2 separate regions of the Homo sapiens genome follow, and region 1 is linked to region 2. The links are contacts of gene promoters, found by promoter capture Hi-C in blood cells and fetal thymus (Javierre and others, 2016). All regions are on one chromosome and are shown on one strand. Each heading gives the region's core, a stretch centred on a gene start or on the middle of the fragment in contact. The rest is flanking DNA. Distances are from core to core; before and after follow the strand shown. Region 1 holds the start of PCGF3 (polycomb group ring finger 3). Region 2 holds the start of SLC26A1 (solute carrier family 26 member 1).

Region 1 (4,578 bases), core at 1,194-3,693, 290 kb before region 2:
TTCCTGCCTCCCTTCTTTACAGCTCTGCTAAGGAATACGTGCCTGTATGTAATATGTGCACACCCCGAACTCACACCAGGACAGCACACACTGCCAACACCCTAGGCTTCTTTGGCCCCGATGCCTCCACCCTCGGGCCTTGGCTGAGTGAGGTCCCAGGAGGGTGCAGGTGGGAGACCTGGCTGGCTGCCGATGGGCCATGGATGGCCAGTTTGGGCATGAGAGGAAGAGGGTGCAGAGGACTCTGGGGTCTTGCCTCAGGACTGGCGGTGGGGGGTGGGGGGTCCTGGGGTACACAGCAGACTCAGGATGGCCTGGGGAAGCCATCCGGCCATGTGGCATTTAAGCTTCCTAATGACATTCAGCAGAAACAGAGCTGGACACAAGAGCCCAGGGCTCAGAGTCAAGGTCCGGGCACCGCTGGCACCCACCCAGGAGAGTAGTGGGAAGCCTAGGGGTAGGGTCTGCACCTCCTTGAGGAGGGGCCTGGGGCCTGGAGTGAGTTCTGAACTGCAGCTTACCACTCTGCCTCTTCCTGAGGCCACCACACTCAGCCCAGGACTGTTCCTGGCCTGCTGGCCACCCCCTGCCCCTTGCACCCCAGCACCAATACCTTGCCCCTGCCCTCCTTCTGGGATGATCCTCCAGTCCTCCCCTCCACATCTGGGGCCTGCCTCCACCAACTGAAAACTGCAGTCAGGGCTCTTGTGGAGGGCCAGCACCCCAGTACCCCAATCCCAGGCAGCCCTCTCCAGTGGGCCCCTCCCCTGCACTGGGCCACCCCATGGCTCCACGGAGCCCTCCCTGCCTCCCCTCCCCCGGGGGCAGCAGTGGCCACATTTAGTCCCTCCCCTTCACAGCAGCATGCCTGGGAATGCTGTACACATTCACATGTCTGCTGTCTGTCCTCCTCCCACCCGGATAACGTGTCCACCCAGTGCTGGAGATCTCAGCAGGCCCCCAGCCCTTCTCAGGCCCCTCTCAGCAGCGGACTCAAGCCGCTTCCCCACGTGCTGCACCATACCTGGGCCCGGGGCCCCCTGCCTGGTGGCTGCTCCCGGGGTCCAACTCTAGACTTCACGGGGACAGTCGCAGGGTCACTCCCTCAGCCACCACCTCTCCAGACGGGACGAGCTAATGACTCCCGACTCCTGCTCCATGCCTGCACCGCACAGCCTCGCAGCGAGTGCCCCTGGGCCTACGGGGCCTCCCCTCTCGCCACCAAGCCTCCACACTGCGCGGTGCCCCGCCGCCCGGAACCACAGTGGTCTCGCTTCCCACCCAAGACCCAACCTGCCCTCCCGTCCTGGGCCGCCAGCCCAGAACCCGCAAACCGGGAGACCCTAGGACCCCGCGTGCCTGCACGTCCGCCTCACCCCCGCACGCGCCCTCGGTCCTCGGATCCCGCCCTCTCAGGACAGTGCCAGTCCCACGAAGGCGCAAATGCCGCCCGTACTGCTCCACCCTGGCGGAGGGCACCCAGGTCGGAGAGTCCGCACGTGGGTGCCCTGTCCGTCCTGATGCTGAACATAACCTAAATACAAGCCTAAACATGACCAGACCCGAACCCCTGACCCTGACCCCACCCCTAATCCTGACCCTAACCCTAAACCCAACCCTAACCCTAAACCTAACCCCTAACTCTGACCCTACCCCTAATCCTGACCCTAACCGTAAAACCAACCCTAACCCTAACCCCTAATGCTGACCCTAACCCTAAATCCAGTCCTAACCCTGACTCTAACCCTAACCCTGACCCTAACCCTAAAACCCAACCCTAACCCTAACCCTGACCCTAACCCTAAACCCAACCCTAACCCTAGACCAGACCCTAACCCCTGACCCTGACCCCACCCCTAATCCTGACCCTAACCATAAACCCAACCCTAACCCTAACCCCTAATGCTGACCCTAGCCCTAAACCCAGTCCTAACCCTGACTCTAACCCCTAACCCTGACCCTAAACCTAAACCCAACCCTAACCCTGACTCTGACCCCTAACCCGACCCCTGACCCTAACACCGACCCTTAACCCTGCCGGGAGGGCGCTCAGTCCCGGCTCCCACAAAGGACAGCAGCACCCGTACTGGACGGCACCCCCGGAGGGACCCGGGCCTGAGGACTCTGCTGCTCCAGCGCCCCAGCTCACGATCGTCCAGGACCCGTCGGGTCCCTCAGCACAGCGCGGCCCTGTCGCTCTCCTGACCACGCCCCTCATGGCCCCGCCCTATGCCTCGCCCCTGGCCCTCGCGCCCCGCGGCTCCCTCCGCCGAGTCCAGGCCCGACGCGCCTGCGCCCTCTGAACACGCCCCTCCCCGCCCCTATCCCCACCCCTTACCGCCTGGCCCCGCCCACGCCCCTTGCCGCGGGGTGGGAGCCCAGACGCACACCGCGCATGCTCCGAGCGCGGCGCCCCCGACGCGGCGCTCGGCTCGGCTCGGGCATTTCCGCCTCTTTGTTTTAAACTCCGGACGGGCTTTTTTCTCCTCCTCTTGGGGGGGACCCAGAGGGAGCGGCGCCCCCTCCCCCCTCCGGCGCGGACCCCGCGTGCGCCTTGCTCGCCCGCAGCCCCGAGACCGCAGGTCAGTGAGTCCGCCCCGCCTGGCCTGGGCCCTCGGCGCCCGCTCCTCAGGCTGCGGCCTCGGCCCGTGTCCGGCCCGGAAGGCTCCGAACCCCGGGCCCGCGCTCCGTCGTCCCCGTCGGCCTGGCCCGGGAAGCCCTTGGCAGGCCCGGGAGGGCCGGCACCCCAGCCCAGTCAGGACTCCGGGAGGTCGAAGACCCCAGCCCAGGCAGGACTCCGGGAGGGCCAAGAGCCCAGCCCAGGCAGGACCCCGGGAGGGCTGGGACTCCAGCCTAGGCAGGACGCAGGGAGGGCAAGACCCCAGCCCAGGCAGGACTCCGGGAGGTCGAAGACCCCAGCCCAGGCAGGACCCAGGGAGGGCTGGGACAGCAGCCCAGGCAGGACGCAGGGAGGGCAAGACCCCAGTCCAGGCAGGACGCAGGGAGGGCAAGACCCCAGCCCAGGCAGGACTCCGGGAGGTCGAAGACCCCAGCCCAGGCAGGACCCAGGGAGGGCAAAGACCCCAGAACAGGGAGGGCCAAGACCCCAGACCAGGCAGGACCCCGGGAGGGCCAAGACCCCAGACCAGGCAGGACCCAGGGAGGGCGAAGACCCCAGCCCAGGCAGGACCGCGGGAGGGCAGGGACCCCAGACCAGGCAGGACCCCGGGAGGGCCAAGACCCCAGACCAGGCAGGACCCAGGGAGGGCGAAGACCCCAGCCCAGGCAGGACCGCGGGAGGGCAGGGACCCCAGACCAGGCAGGACCCTGGGAAGGTCGCGACCCCAGCCCAGGCAGGACCCAGGGAGGGCGAAGACCCCAGACCAGGCAGGACCCAGGTGAGGGCGAAGACCCCAGCCCAGGCAGGACCGCGGGAGGGCAGGGACCCCAGACCAGGCAGGACCCTGGGAAGGTCGCGACCCCAGCCCAGGCAGGACCCAGGGAGGGCGAAGACCCCAGACCAGGCAGGACCCAGGTGAGGGCAAAGACCCCAGCCCAGGCAGGACCGCGGGAGGGTAGGGACCCCAGCCCAGGCAGGACCCTGGGAAGGTCGCGACCCCAGCCCAGGCAGGACCCCGGGAGGGCTGGGTCTTCAGACCAGGCAGGACCTGAAGAGAGTTGGGCTCTGGGATTGCACAGGACCCCCAGAGTGCTAGGACACAATGACACATCATCCAGGAGGGTCTGACCCTGGGACAGGTCACCGAGAAGGGCTGGGACCCCAAGATGGGTCACCAAGGAGGGTCGGACCTGGCCACCTGGCAGGGCCCGGGGGGGCTAGGACCCTGGGAAGAATCACGGAGGAGGGCCAGACGTAGGGACCAGGCAGAATCCAAAGAATGCCAGGACCCCAGAATAGATCCCCCAGGAAGGTCCTGCCTTAAAGTGGGTCACAGACGAGGGCCAGGACCCCATGACCATAATTCAGGAGGACCTGACCCTGGAGCAGTCTTGTGAGTCCTGTGAGCACTGCTGGGACCCTGAGACTGCCCCGTCTCCCCCGGGACCCTGAGACAGCCCTGTTTTCCCCTGGGGGCCGGGACCCTGGGACAGCCTGTTTTCACCCGGGGGCCGGGACCCTGGGACAGCCCTGTTTTCCCCTGGGGGTCGGGACCCTGGGACAGCTCTGTTTTCCCCTGGGGGTCGGGACTCTGGGACAGCTCTGTTTTCCCCTGGGGGTCGGGACCCTGGGACAGCCCTGTTTTCCCCTGGGGGTCGGGACCCTGGGACAGCTCTGTTTTCCCCTGGGGGCCGGGACCCTGAGACAGCTCTGTTTTCACCTGGGGGCCGGGACCCTGAGACAGCTCTGTTTTCACCTGGGGGCCGGGACCCTGGGACAGCTCTGTTTTCCCCTGGGGGCCGGGACCCTGGGACAGCCCTGTTTTCCCCTGGGGGTCGGGACCCTGGGACAGCCCTGTTTTCACCTGGGGGTCGGGACCCTGAGACAGCCCTGTTTTCCCCTGGGGGTCGGGACCCTGGGACAGCCCTGTTTTCCCCTGGGGGCCGGGACCCTGGGAC
Region 2 (4,209 bases), core at 301-2,800:
TGGGCCTTCTCCTGGCAGCGCGGGCCCCAGCCCCCTGCCCGGTATGGATGGACGCTGGGCCCTGCTGGATCCAGAATCCATCGTGAGGTGAGATGGGATTACGACACCAAGCCCATGCCATGGGGTGTGCTGAGGCCAGCAGTGCTGAGGGGCGGCGTGGCGGCACCCTGTCCAGGCTCAGCTCCGGCCTATTGGCTCTGCGGTTCCTGGCTGAAAACCACCCTGTAGCCTCCTGAAGCTCACCTCCCCAACGGGGCAGGAACAGGCTGGGCTGCCACCACGCACATGTGCCTACCGTCAGAATGTCACAGTCACTGGACACAGGTGCAGGCAAGCCTGAGTCCAGCTGCTCCGTGTCCACCTCCCTGGCTCCCCAGGTTGGCAAACGGTCCTGCTGTCCACCCCATGCCCACACCAGAGCCCTCCCTCCCCCATCCAAACCATCGCCTGCTCTCCTGGAGACACCTCCACCCACCCCTCTGTCACCTGCCCTGTGGGTCCTGGGGCTGGCGGAAGTCTCAGGAAGAGGCCTCCTATGTCCCTGCCAAGCTTTGTGGGTACTGGGACCCCAAGTCTGCTGGGGGAGCAGCACTCAGACACTAGCCTAGCCCATCCGCCTGGACTTGGGACAGAATTCTGAGAATATGCCTGGACGGGGGCCCCATCAGGGCCAGCTGGGAGGGGAGGAGGGTGACTGGCGTCTGTCTCCCCTGCCCAGACAGTTCTGGGACGTGAGGCGCCCTTTTTCCCAGGCTGCACCAGCTCACTGTGGAACGGCCATGACACACTGTCCCGAGGCAGCACCGAGAGGGCCCAGCCCGCTGCACACAGTCACCCTGGGCCGGCAGAGCCGGAAGGGCACCTGACCTTTCCCTTGATCTCGGAAAACACCGTGGCGTTAGGGAGGCGGTGCTTAGAGGCCTGACTGGTCCCACGTGAGGCCTCGGGTCTGTCCTGTTTGCAGACTCCAATGTACTTTCACTTTAAACATTCTTCTCAGCGACGTTAGGCAAAGACTTTGCTCCCAGGACACCAGGTGCCCAGGACACCCTGGAGCCTGGGCTGAGCCTGCTGTTTGCACGCTGGCCCAGGGTGTGCGAGCTCCAGTCTCCTGGCGGGTGTGTTGGGGCAGTGAGCCCAGCCTGGTAGGTTGACACATGCAGGCTGGGCACAGCACCCCTGGGGCACAGAGCGGGGGTCCTGGCCCTCAGGCAACATTGCAAGAGTTGTGTCCCCTTCCCTGGAAGACCCCACCACACTGGGTCCCTGGATGCCCTGAAGCCCACCCCAAGCCCCTGGGGTCCAGGTGTGTGGAATGGGGACAGTAGGGCCACCTGCCTTGAGCCTGAGGGTGCCCCTAAGAAACCACGAGTCCAGGGCATTTCTGGCCTCGGCTCCCACGCCCCCCTCTGCTGCAGCTGAGATCTGGGCCCAGGATGGTTCTTACCTGAGGGAGTCCTCACAGGCGCGGAGGGCCCTGGGATGACGAGGGGCTGGCAAGACCACCGAGGACCGCAGGGCCCTCTGGCTCCCGCGAGCAGCGGGGAGAGTGGGGGTGGTGGCGCCAACCTGCAGGCAGTGGTCTGTGCCCTGGACTCTGTAGTTCAATTATTTACCTACAGATTGCTGAGTCATGGGTTTCTCCAGCCATGTTACCTGATCGGCTGATCCGGGAGTTGAACTGTAATCAGGGGCTTGTAGGAGTTAGAGCTGTGTGGGCCTCTGAGGAGCTCCCAGCCTCCCAGGAGCCGCTGCAGCTGTGGCTCTGCGGCCCTGCCGGGGGGGCTTAGGGACCAGCGGGAGGCGGGGGCTCAGGGGCTGAGCACAGGTAAACCTTCAGCTCTGGGGTCTGGGGTCGAGTGCAGCAGCCTTCAAACCCAGGCGGGGCTGAGGGAGGCTTGGTCTCCGTGTCCAGTCGCCGGACACCCTCCTGGTCCTGCAAGGAGCCAGCCTGGTCCAAGCTGGAGCAGGGCAGAGGCTGACAGCCGGCTCAGCCCAAGGCTGCCGGTGCGTGCATATGCGTGTGTGCTCGCGTAAGCCCTGTGTGTGGTGCTCACCGCCCAGGGCGAGGACTGCCGGGGTCAAGGTGCCGTGACTGGCCAGGAGTCCTGGTCTGACTGGACCCAGCACCGACCCACAGCGCCTGGTCACCCTCACGGCTCCTCTGCCCTCCCCTCTACCACAGACCAGGACCGGCAGTGCCTGCCTCATAGGGCTGGGGTGAAGATAAATGATTTTTTTAAGTGAACTAAATTAGGCCCACACGTGAAAATAAGGGTAAGCTGCTTTTTAAAAGGAATTATTAGCCAGGCACGATGGTTCACTCCTGTAATTCCAACACTTTGGGAGGCCTAGACAGGAGGATCGCTTAAGGCCAGCAGTTCAAGACCAGCCTGGTCAACATAGTGAGACGCCCCCCACCTTTTCTTTTTTTTTTTTTGAGGCGGAGTCTTGCTCTGTCACCCAGGCCGGAATGCAGTGGTGTGATCTCGGCTCACTGGAAGCTCTGCCTCCTGGGTTCACGCCATTCTCCTGCCTCAGCCTCCTGAGTAGCTGGGACTACAGGCGCCCGCCACCGCGCCCGGCTAATTTTTTTTTTTTTGAGACGGAGTTTCGCTCTGTTGCCCAGGCTGGAGTACAGTGGCATGATCTCGGCTCACTGCAAGCTCTGTCTCCCGGGTTCAAGTGATTCTCCTGCCTCAGCCTCCCGAGTAGCTGGGACTACAGGCACCCGCCACCACGCCCGGCTAATTTTTTGTATTTTTAGTAGAGACGGGGTTTCACCATGTTAGCCAGGATGGTCTTGATCTCCTGACCTCGTGATCCACCCACCTCGGCCTCCCAAAGTGCTGGGATTACAGGCTTGAGCCACTGCACCCGGCCGCCCCCTGCCCCCCAACCTTTAAAAAATTAAAAGTAAAAAATTAGCTGGGTGTGGTGGTGTGTGCCTGTATCCCAGCTACTCAAGCGGCTCAGGTGGGAGCATGGCTTGAGCCCAGGAGTTTGAGGCTGCCATGAGGTATGATTAGGCCACTGCACCCTATCCTAGGCCACAGAGCAAGAGCCCGTCTCAAAAACAAACGCTGTCATTGGCCCAGCACTTTGGGAAGCTAAGGTAGGAGGATTGCTTGAGCCCTGGAGGTCCAGGCTGCAGTGAGGTATGTTTGTAGCGCTTCACTCCAGCCTACAAGTCTTTTTTTTTTTTTTTTGAGATGGAGTCTCGCTCTGTTGCCCAGGCTGGAGTGCAGTGGCACAATCTCGGCTCACTGCAGCCTCTGCCTCCCGGGTTCAAGCGATTCTCCTGCCTCAGCCGCCTGAGTAGTTGGGACTACAGGCGTGTGCCACCACGCCCGGCTAATTTTTGTATTTTTAGTAGAGACAGGGTTTCACTATGTTGGTCAGGCTAGTCTTGAACTCCTGACCTTGTGATCCACCCGCCTCGGCCTCCCAAAGTGCTGGGATTACAGGCGTGAGCCACCGTGCCCGGCCAGTTCTGTCTCAAAAAAAAAAAAAAAATTCCTTGGGAGCCTCAGGTCCCCCCGACTTTGACAGTGAGTACTGGGTGGGAGCCTGCACGGGGCACCTGTGGCCGGAGGGTGAGTGTAACGAGGGGCTGCAGCCCTCAGTGCTCTCCCATCCCAAGGGAGGCCAGGAGGCTGCGGTGGGTCCCTCGGGTGGGGCTGGAAGGCCAACCCGGCCCTGGCACCTTGGGCAGCCTGACTCTGTCCGGGGAACAGAAGCCACAGGCTCTACTTCTCCTGTCCATGTGGGATTGAAGCCGAGGGTCTCGCAGAACCAGCTGATGTGCCGGGGCTCCATTTCCCCAAGACGAGGACACTGACATTGATGGGGCACAGCCCCGGAGGGAGGAGACCCTGGACACTCACCCCACCAAAGGTACCTCCTTGTGGAAGCCGTCTGCCAAGCGCTGCTAGTTCCCCACAGCCCTGGGTGAGCCCAGGGAAGACTGGGCTGCAGTGCCCCCATTTGGAGGTGAAATGGGAGTGGAATGTAGTTGGGATGGCCAGAGAGTAGGAGACATCCTAAGTGTGAGATGTGGACAGGGCTGAATGCTCCAGGGTCTCGTACCCCAGAGTGTGAGATGCGGGCAGGGCTGAACGCTCTGGGGTCTCGTACCCCTGAGTGTGAGATTCGGGCAGAGCTGAACAGGCTCCAGGGTCTCATACCCCCATAGCCTCCACCTGGGAT

The links. Contacts are between HindIII fragments. The CHiCAGO score rates a contact against its expected background, and 5 or more counts as called.
Region 1: the fragment with the promoter of PCGF3 here is called in contact with the fragment with the promoter of SLC26A1 in region 2 in 1 of 17 cell types (naive CD8 T cells); the score reaches 5.7 in naive CD8 T cells.

What each region holds. Positions count from the first base shown.
Region 1 is chr4:703,389-707,966 of GRCh38, forward strand. It overlaps PCGF3 (polycomb group ring finger 3), which reads left to right and starts at 2,444. Exons shown (of 11, transcript NM_006315.7): 1 at 2,444-2,582. RefSeq lists enhancers at 464-1,191, 2,232-3,217, 3,218-4,202 and a silencer at 2,167-2,866. The HindIII fragment of the contact is 21,581 bases long and covers 346-4,578 here.
Region 2 is chr4:991,854-996,062 of GRCh38, forward strand. It overlaps SLC26A1 (solute carrier family 26 member 1), which reads right to left and starts at 1,551. Exons shown (of 3, transcript NM_022042.4): 1 at 1,448-1,551. All of the region lies in intron 2 of IDUA (alpha-L-iduronidase), which reads left to right. RefSeq lists enhancers at 888-1,699, 1,700-2,511. The HindIII fragment of the contact is 37,873 bases long and covers 548-4,209 here.